Regions from separate parts of the Homo sapiens genome. Here all the other regions are linked to region 3. The links are contacts of gene promoters, found by promoter capture Hi-C in blood cells and fetal thymus (Javierre and others, 2016). All regions are on one chromosome and are shown on one strand. Each heading gives the region's core, a stretch centred on a gene start or on the middle of the fragment in contact. The rest is flanking DNA. Distances are from core to core; before and after follow the strand shown. Region 1 overlaps LOC107985239 (a long non-coding RNA gene). Region 2 has its middle 29 kb from the start of HMCN1. Region 3 holds the start of NIBAN1 (niban apoptosis regulator 1).

Evidence for each region. Contacts are between HindIII fragments. The CHiCAGO score rates a contact against its expected background, and 5 or more counts as called.
Region 1: a contact is called between a fragment that was not itself captured here and the fragment with the promoter of NIBAN1 in region 3, in 5 of 17 cell types (megakaryocytes, naive B cells, total CD4 T cells and 2 more). The highest score is 8.0, in megakaryocytes.
Region 2: a contact is called between a fragment that was not itself captured here and the fragment with the promoter of NIBAN1 in region 3, in 2 of 17 cell types (total CD4 T cells and naive B cells). The highest score is 5.2, in total CD4 T cells.

Annotation. Positions count from the first base shown.
Region 1 is chr1:185,677,701-185,680,888 of GRCh38, reverse strand. It overlaps LOC107985239 (a long non-coding RNA gene), which reads right to left. Exons shown (of 3, transcript XR_001738340.2): 2 at 1,334-1,440; 3 at 1-185. Among named protein-coding and RNA genes, the nearest start is that of GS1-204I12.4, 33 kb to the right of the region's middle. The HindIII fragment of the contact is 1,068 bases long and covers 1,275-2,342 here.
Region 2 is chr1:185,703,370-185,706,881 of GRCh38, reverse strand. No RefSeq gene overlaps it. Among named protein-coding and RNA genes, the nearest start is that of HMCN1, 29 kb to the left of the region's middle. The HindIII fragment of the contact is 889 bases long and covers 1,311-2,199 here.
Region 3 is chr1:184,972,968-184,976,320 of GRCh38, reverse strand. It overlaps NIBAN1 (niban apoptosis regulator 1), which reads left to right and starts at 1,813. Exons shown (of 14, transcript NM_052966.4): 1 at 1,813-2,019. The coding sequence starts at 1,965. RefSeq lists a silencer at 2,029-2,348 and an enhancer at 2,459-2,628. The HindIII fragment of the contact is 8,420 bases long and covers 1-3,243 here.

The DNA of each region.
Region 1 (3,188 bases), core at 559-3,058, 700 kb before region 3:
TTTACTCAAGGGAGTTCTGTTGCATGGAGATTATTAAGCTATTTTAACACAGCCAACACAAGGAAATCAGTCAGGGTGTTCCATTATTTGCCAGATGAATGGTCAGCTATTTCGGAGGGTAGAGGTCTGATCTCTTCTCCCAGGTAAAGTAAAGCCAGGGCCTTGGCTCAGCTGGGATTCCGGAGCTGAAAGTACATAGGAAGTGAGTCTGTGGGGCACGCTGGTTGCTGTAGGTGACAGCAGAGGGGAAGTGACATCTGTGGCTCAGAGAAAGGGTAGAAGGAGCCAAAGAGGCTCCAAGGCCCTCATTCATTTATTCAATAAACATAGAGTAAGGGCTTAATGTGTGCTAAGCACTGTGCCAGAGCCGTGTGACCTCATGGTGAAAGAGAGCCTTCATAAGTGAGAGAGTGTTAGAGAAGTAAAAAACAGAATTTTGAAGATCATGTTCATCAGGGGTTGCTCAGCTAGTGGTTAAGTTCAAGGAGATGACGAAGACAAGAATGGGACCCAAACCAAGGGTAGGAGCAAAGATTCAGTGAACTGATAAGAAGAGCCAGTGGCATTCAGGAAGCCAGCCTGGGAAGATAGGCAGAGGTAGCAGTGCATGCAGCGAAGTGTGTGCTTCAGGTGTCTGAGCCCAAGGGGGAGGGCAGGTGAGGAGCTGAACCTGTTTATAGAGGAAGGAAAGAGTCATGGACACAAGTTCACCTCTAGGCTGTAGCAAGGACACAGTGGGCGATAAAACATTCATTTGTTGAGTAACTTAACAAATGATGAATGAATGAATGAATGAATGAATATGACTGTCCTCCCTTTCACATTGTTTGATTTAATTAGTTTGATCCTTGAAGAGTATTTGAAGCAGTAAGTCTTAGAAACTTCTGTCCTGATTGCCCAGGTTGTATAAAATCTAGCACCTTTTCTTCTTTTTACTGCTCTATTTCCTGTCCTGTTCCTTCTGACTCTCCTTAACATTCTAGAGCTCTTTGAATCTCATGAGTCAAAGAAAGGAAAGGGAGTGAAGCTGAGCCATCAAGTTGCATATTTGGGGCAAATCATAGCAAAAGACTTGCTGCAGAAACAATCGATTGTTTTAGATTTTCATTTGGCTACATTATCCTTCTATCTATACCACAGGTGTAATAAAAACTGTTATTTTACTTTGCCAGTGGAGAGTGTATCCAAGTGGTTTACAGTTCACAGCTAAATAAAACACTATTTGGGTTCTCATTAAAACCTTGTTAGGATGTTATATAATAGAGGAAGAAGCTTAGAGGGACAGCAAGGCCATTTGATGCTTTGGAGCACGTATTGTCTTCCCACTCATTACCTTGCCAACGTGAGTGTGCACAGTTGGTCCTTCCAGCAAGCTCCGGACCTGCCTCTTCACATCCTTGGCTGCATTACTGAGAATCTGTCAGCTCATTCTCCTCACCCCTGGGGGGAATCACACAAGGAAGTTCAGTCAGGGTCAAGGTGCCTTGTTTCTCTTCCTCTTCAATGGATTTACTCTATAATCCTATTTGTCCTGCCAAATGAAAGGAAATCCTCATTGTCTTTTCACACTTCAGCTTCCCTAACGCAAGAGCTATCTTAAGAGTTATGACTAAGTTACCAACTTGCTTCACGTAGGTATTTGTTTTTTCCTGGAATGGTGATGGGATCAAGGCCCAAATCTATGAAACAGTTTGTGAGAATTTTTGGAACTATAAGGCATTTGTCAGGATGGATAGTGGTGGTTTGATGTTGATCTTACTCATTTTCATTTCTGTTATTCTCTGAGAATTTTAACCATGTTATTTGAAACTTCTTCACAAAAATGACTTAATGATAAAAATTTCAGAAGAGCAAAATGTTAATAAGCCCCAGTTCCTAATCTGGTCTGTGTCTAGTAATAGTTAATGCCTCAAAATTTCAGGATTATTAAAAATAAGTCTTCTTAAAGTTGAAATAAACCTTTTTCTGTTTCTTCAGGTAATTGAAAGGATGCCATATGTTATTTTAAATGCAAAAATATTGTATCTCAAAGGATCAAAGGATCCAATTGGATCTCAGAAAAATGCTATCTAGAGAAAAACTACCATTATAAATCATAGAATTATAAAATAATAAGGTGAAAATGGTCTTAAAGGTCAGTGCAATAATTGATAGTCTTGTCCCTTTGCAGATGAGGAAGCTAAGGCTGCTCAAATGACATGATGTGTACATGATGACAAAACTCATGAATTCATGAATTCAAACACGAATCTTCCATTCCCCAAAGTCCAAGCCCATGTACAGAAAATTCTAGGCCACTGCACATCCTCCCTTTTATAATTGCACATTTAGTAATACAAGCTTCATATTAAATTTCCAAGCTCATATCTGGATTGAAGAATATGTCTCCATGCATATCGTTAAACATTTCCAACAGGTTTTTTTTTTAAATTTATTGCATTTGGCCTTTATTCTCAACTCAAAAGCTTGGTATAAGTGCAAGCCTTTTGGAATTTTTTAAAAGATAAAGATTTCCTTTGTGTCTGAGATCTAGATTTTCCTCAGACCTTATTTCAACTTGGTTAGTTCAATTTTCCTCTTTAAAACTCCTTTATTTTCATTTAACTAAGGAAGTGTGTTCATCATGTACCTTCTTACCTCTTGAAATATTTGTTTTGTTTAGCCATAAAAGTCCAAATGCAATTTAACACCTAAAAAGAGAAGAGGTGCAATTGTAAAACTGTAACAATTTTGCTAAATTGAGCAGTACTTCTTTAAAAATCTTAGGAAATATGAATTCTTCTATTATGAGCTATACACTTGTTATCACTGAAAGATAATTACTACTTTTCTAAACTCAGCCAGTGAGGTATATAATCCTAATGTCCTTTCTCCAAGGTAAGAAATGGTCATCTTTCTGGATATTAAAAGACAATAAATACATCAATTAAATTAAAAAGATGAAGATTATTAAAGTGATTTAACAGATTTAAAGATTATTAGAGTTCATTTGGAGCTGACTACAGCTCCAAAGGATGAATATTAAATGAAACTTATTAAATAATTTTTAATTCAAATCAATTTCATATTCTTGAGTTGTTCATCAAAAATAAATGCTGACATGTTATCATCCAACAAGTTCAAAGCACTTCCTGTTTGGTAAAAAAGGAGACCTAATGTTCTGCATAATCACGTTGTCTTGAGAAAAG
Region 2 (3,512 bases), core at 506-3,005, 730 kb before region 3:
AAGGTAACGTGGCCCTACCAACACCTTGATTTCAAACTTCTAGCCTCCAGAACTGTGAGATAATAAATTTCTGTTGTTCTAAGTCACCCAGTTTGTGGGAATTTGTTATGGCAGCTCCCGGAAACAAATATACTGTAAGTCATAAAGAGCCCAAGGAGGGATAGCTAGTTCTCTATGACTGAATGGACAACTGTACATCAGCAATGGTGTGAAACAAATATCTTCTTCGAAAAAGCATTTGGATGTGATGATCTCTAAAGATCTCTCCTGACTCTAAGATTCTCCAAATTCCCATACAGTAAAGTTTCCACACCAATAGATACATAAGATAGATATGTAGTTTATAGTTAGTGGGCTAGAAAGGCTAGACAACATATCTAACACATGCATGCATTTAAACCTCACATGCCTTATATCAGACATGCTCAGCTTCCCAGAACACCATAGATGTCTACATATCTTCATCCATTAATTCCAACCTTCCCTCAGAAAAGATATAGGAAGGAGATGGTGATAGATTAACTCCATAATAGTTATTTGGGGATTATCCACTATAGTAAAAATAGAAAATAAAATATGAATAGTATGACAAATTTGTGGTCTTGTGTCCTACCAAAATATCTCCTGCCTAGAGGTTTTTTTAAAAAAATAAAAAACACTGGGGTATATAACTACACTTTCTGAATTTAGGGCTGAGAGTCATAGAGTCCAAATTATTCAACTATTCTCTGCACTATCATAATAAAGCAAGCTCATGATTTCCCAAAAGATAGAAGGTACCATTGATACATTTTTTTTCTATGAAACGTTCACAATGTTTTAGGAAAGCTTTTAATGGTACATGATCTACATCTCTGTTTAATCTATGTTTCTGTTTCATGTTTACATAGTTTTATGTATGTCAATATGTTCTCACTTTTACAGAGTCTCTCTTGAATTGTAAACTATGAGAGAGAAAGAGACTCTCTTTTATAGATACAACATGACACAAGATACTTGGAGAATTTTTAAATATAGTAAATAGTGCTTTAGTTAAATGTTATTGTGTTTTGTCATAACCTGCAACTAATAGTGCTTTTTGATCCCCCTCATGGGGTTGTTGGGATGATTAAATATGACAGCTAGGGCAAGGCACTAGCACGGTGTCTAGCAATCAGTAAATCTCCATTAAATATCAGCTCCAGGTTTGATACTGAAACAAGTATTAGGGGTCAATATTTATGCTTAAAATTAAATATGCAAAATTGTAAGATTCTTACCCCTGTAGTGATATGGTGAGAAGAGGCAGAGCACAGAAGTTAGCACAAGCTTTAGAGCTCAACAGTCAGAGTTTGGGCCATGGCTGTTATACTCAGTAACTGTATGACCTCAGGAAGTTATCTGACTCCCAGCTCTTCAGTTATCATTAAAGAATTATTTTCAAAGTCATTAGAGATAGTGTTTATAAAGCACCTAATGTGACAACCAACACATAGTAAGCATTCAATAAATAGTAGCAGTAAATCCAAGGGGGGCTTCAGTCCATATTACCTCATCTCAAAGGATTCCTCTAAGTACTTGTCATTCTGTATACAACTCTTATTTTTATCTAATAATTTGATTTTCCCCAGATGGTTATTACATATTTATATAATGCCTATGTTCGTAAAAAAGCACATAATTAATTTTTTAAATGTATTAAATGCCCTGATAAGGAAACGCATCCAAAATTGAAAAAAGGAAGAAACAAAAAAGTAGATTGCAAGTTCTTCCAATATTTTATGGGTTTAAGATTTACCCAAGGGATTACCCAAGGGATTTCCCAAGGGATTATCCAGGAGAATATAATTTGATTTACTATATACTACTGATTAAAAGTCTCAAACGTAGTGACATTACCACGAAACTTATAAATTTTTGTCCAGTAAAAATGAAAATAAAGTCTGGCTTGTGGAACAGATTATCCCAAAGGTAATGGTATCCTGTAGGATATTAACCAGAATTTTTTAATGCAGTGTAGCAATCTTATCCTGACATTCCTTTATTAAATTGCTTATAAATGCCTAAGTCCTCAAATGCTTTTGCAACCAGCATAAACATCTTACTGATTCCTTCTTTAATAGATAAGCTGAATAGAATCTTTGACTTGTTTATTTTATATTTGCATGCAACTCATGGTTTTCATTTTCTTAAAATTATGTTAGTAGCTTTGAGAAAGCTTAGTAGAAAAAATAATTACCATAGTTAATATTTTAGAAAGTGAAAAATTATTTAGCAACATGAATGATCACTTTCTAATTAATCTCTTATAGCAGCCTTTTCTATGTGTTTTCTCATACCTGAGCATTCTTGTGTTCAGGCCACTGGCATGAGCAAGTACAACTGCCACTTGCTGCAGCAAGATAAGTCGGCTGAAGTTCTAAAGTCTCTTATACAGCTGTATGAGTAATGAGTTCAAAAATCACTCTAACAATTGCTATTGGCTTCCCTTTCTTTGCTTATTCCAATCCTTATTAATGGTCTGAGAGATAAGGCTCCTGTTACCACATGCACACAATGTCTGGCTAGCATCGCACATACGAGATATGGTTTCATTCCAGTTTTCCTGCCACCAGGGGAAATAAACAACAAAGTTGGACTCTGAAGGAATGGGCTTGTTGGTTTAGCCCATTTTGCACCTTGTTAATGTCTTACTCATCCATATAGTGACCATCTGGCAACACTTGGAGCCAGATTTCTGCTTAATTAAGTCATGTGAATTATCAGAGGCTTACATACCCAAAATTTAGAAGAAACAAAGGTGTGGACAATTCTAATCTGAATTTATTATTGTGTGACTTATTCAAAGTCAGATGATGCATATTTTCATGGACAAAAAAGTTGAGGTATATGATGAATTCTATAGATTCAAAATAGTAAGAACAGAAAAGGTATAAAAGGGAAAGTTATTCTCTTCACAGAAGGATTCTCCATGGTAAAAAATAATTCATAAAAGACCTTTTAAGGAGCAAAACCCCCTAATACTCTAAACTTTTCTTTTTCTCAACACAAATGCTTAAAGCAGTGTGGTACATTAAGCAAGACTTTGGCACAATTAGTAGTGTGCCACCTTAGAGAAACCTATTCATCTCACTCGGATAGGATTTCCTTATCCAAGGAATAAAGAAGCAGACCTAGTAGAACTCTAAGACACCAGCAAGTTCCATTTTATGACTTACAGACAGCTTTTTGAGAGGACACATTACATAAAATAATATATTCCTGAAGTAATGTGAGGAAAACAATTGCCAGAGGATGTCCATAGGGTCAACTCATTTGACTTAAGGAGAAAGGACCATGTCCTGTGATAGATCTACTCATGCTGCTAACTCCTTTTGTCTAACAGACAGAATAGAAAAAGAACACCAAATGAAGCAAGTTTTAAGGGTCTTAATTAGAGCTTTACCAATGACTAGTTGTTTGGTCTTGGGCATGTCACTTTGCCTCTTACAAAATGAAGACTTAAACTAATTCTCTCTTCCAGCACTAATTTT
Region 3 (3,353 bases), core at 564-3,063:
TCAACACTAAATATTTTAAATCATTGAGTTGTTATCTGGAAATGCTTGAGATCACAGTTTTTGTTGAGTACAGATTTTTACATTTTATTTTTCATTCATTCACTTATTCAGTGGTTATCTACTGGACACCTACTACATGCTAGGTGCTCTTCTAGGCATTTGAAATACAGCAGAGGACAGAATAGACAAAAAAATCCCTGCCATAAGAGGAAAAATAATAATAAAAAAGGAAACAGAAATTTTGAGGGAAAAAGCCCCAAGAAACAACAATAACAACAAAGAAAATCCCTGATCTTATAGAGTTTACATCGCAGTGGGGGAAGATAGACAAAGAAATATGTGTTAGATGATACTAAGTGATATGAAACAGAAATAATGAAGAGCAAGTGGCAGAGAGAGGTGATGGCTGGTGTTCCTGGGTCAAGGAGAACCTCTCTGAATTACTAGCATTAAAGTGGAGGCTTGAATGAAATGACTGAGAGAGTAACCTATGTGAATATCTGAAGGAAGAGCATCCTACAGAAATGAAAAACAAGTGCAAAGGCCCTGAGCTTGATGTGTCTCAGAAAGAGTAAAAAAAAAGGCTAGTAGGGCTGGAACAGAGAGAACAAGGAGTGGTGGTAGAGAAGATCACAGAGGAAACTCCACCTAGGCCCTGATAGACGTCGTGGCTTTTCTCTGAAGAAGGTAGATCAGTTAGGCAGCTAGTGTAATGAATAAGGTGAGGAATGATATGGGATGTCAGTAGAGGGGATGAGAATTGGTTGGCTATTGGACATATTTAAAAGCTGAATTGACAGGATTTACTGACAGATTGGAATGTAGAGTGTGAGAGATTGGGTGTGAGTGTGATGAAATAATTGTGTTAAAGTGCAAGTTAGCTAATAGGGAAGGCGGGGGTGTGTGGGAAAGCCTTCAAAGTCCTCCTCAGGCCTGGTTCTAGTGTATACAGACCATTTGACCTTGAGGTTAAGTCAATAGGAGTCGCAAAATAACTGACTACTAAGAATAGGATGAAATCAGCGGTGACCCCTCTGCCCAAGTGGGTCTTGTTCCGAGAGGCTGCCAAGCTAAATAGTGGTTGTGGGAAAAGAACAAATATCTTTTCTAATGATTGATTTCCAGTTAAGGAGAGGAATGGAAAGTAAAGGGGTAAGGACAGACGTTCATCAAGTCTTAGGAAGTTTCAGGGCTGGGAGTATATTGCAGGACCAAGCCTTAGTTTTTCCCTGTCTTTCCATTTTTTTTTCTCTTTCCTTTTTTCCTCATTTCCCCACTCCCTCCTTGGTCCAGGTTCTCGCCTGCAGAAAGGTATAGTTTACCTCTAGTTCTCAAACTTCAGCGGGCATCAGAATTCCCTGGAGGGTTTGTGCAAACACAGATTGCTGGGCTCCACTCCCACAGATTCTAAGTGTGTGTGTGTCTGTGTGTGTGTAGAGGGGTGGTGGACGAAAGCGCTGAGATTTTGTATTTCTAACAGGCTCCCAGGTAATGCTTGGGAAGAACTGTTGCTTCTTGGACAGCAACACTTACAAGGCAACGTGATCTTGAGCTCCACCTCGAAGGATGTGAGCTGGGAAAGTTCCAGCTCACAGAGATTTAGTCACTTGAGAAATGGTCCACTTCCTCCAAGGTGTTTCTTGGATGCCCCAAAGGGATGAAAACAAGAAGTGACCGTGGGCGAGGAGGAGGAGCTGGCCGACCTCCTCGGTTGCCAGCCCGTCGGAGCTCACCAGCTAGGCGAGGGCGGGAAGACAGCCCCCGGGCCGGCCCACGGATCATCAGAAGGCGCGGACCTGGAGGAGGCGCCCCAGAAGGCGACGCCTCTTGCCTCCTGTCTCTCGCCTCTCGAAGGAAGTTTGCTCTTAATTTCAGAGCCGGGTTCGCCGTCGGATCAACCTCCAGGAGCTAGCAGCGGGCGCGGACCGGGCAGTTTCCGCGCTCAGCACAGGCAGCTCGCGGTCATGGGCGGCTCAGCCTCCAGCCAGCTGGACGAGGGCAAGTGCGCTTACATCCGAGGTACGCCCGCCCGCCCGGGGGCCTGGGGAGCACCCTGACCCGTGCACCAGGCTGGCTGCCGCGGTCGGGGCCCCAAGGGGCGCGCCCCGGGCCCTCTCCCTGTAGCGCGCGGGGATCCCCGACCGCAGCCCGCCCGCGCGAGTCGGGTTTCCTGCCCCAGCCGGCGCGCTCCGGCGCGGGTGTGGACCGGGGACCGGGAGGGCTTGGGAGCGAGGCAGGTGCAGGATGCGGGTGGGGACGCCGGCGCCTTCGCCGCTCCCGCCGCCTCGGGGTCAGTGCCGCCCCCGCCCGGCGCACTTCGCCCTCCAGTACCTGCCCTGGACTGAGTTCTGAGCGGTTTCTGAACTGGCCGCCAAGAGAGCAGCGGGGATATCCCGCGTTTCTAGAGATACCCCTGGGGATTCCCGGCAGCTAAAGCAGAATTTCCCTCTTAGTAATGTTGGCCTGGCTTTGGAAAGCGCGGCGTTGGCCGCAGCTTCGCTCGCACTTCATCCTAGCACTTGCAGGATGATTTCATCAGCGGCAAAAAGGACAATGTCATGCCGTTCCCTTCCCGCCCCGGAGAGGGGCGAAGCAAAAGAGGAACACTGGCGTGCTTTGTAACTGCCCGAAAGTTACAGATGGGGAGAAACTCATTTAGGGAGACCCTCAGAGATGTGGGGACTCAGTAGAGAGCGTGAGGCTGCAAAACAAACAAAACAAAACCCAAACCGAACTGAAACTGCAGGAAGTCCTGACTCGTTATCTCCTTTATTTCCTGGGCGTATTTGGCCTCCCCTCTTCTCACCCCCCACCCCAAACTTGCCTTCAACCGCTACCTAACATTTGGTTATCTTACCAATTTACTGTCTTTCCCCCGCCCCGCCGCCAGATCCCCCACCCTCGGCTTCAGAAATATCTTCCAGACTATGTATTAAACTCTAGGTTTATTTGGCCCTTGAATCCTTTCCTAAGAGGAAATCATTTATTTGGTGTTCTTATTCCACATTTGTTTTCAGTCACCACAACATTTAAGACCGTTTTAAAAAGATATCAAATCAGGGTACGTGAAGAGCAACGGAGCTGATTTTACAGATTCCTGCTCTGGTGCTTTTGGAGGTAAAAGATCCTCAACAACCTGTACTGTCAGGGGATAACACTTGGTCAAGTATCTCTTTGCTTTTGTTTGTTAAAGGGGAAAAGACGGATGATTTATTTATATTAGTAAAAGAGCTGAACTAAGCTTAAAAGAAATAAATGAAGCCTGCCTTAGTCTTAAAAATGTGGCTACATGCTTGTGTTACCAGTGTATAGGGACTGAAAGGGCAATCAACAGAACGTAGTGAGAAAGGGCT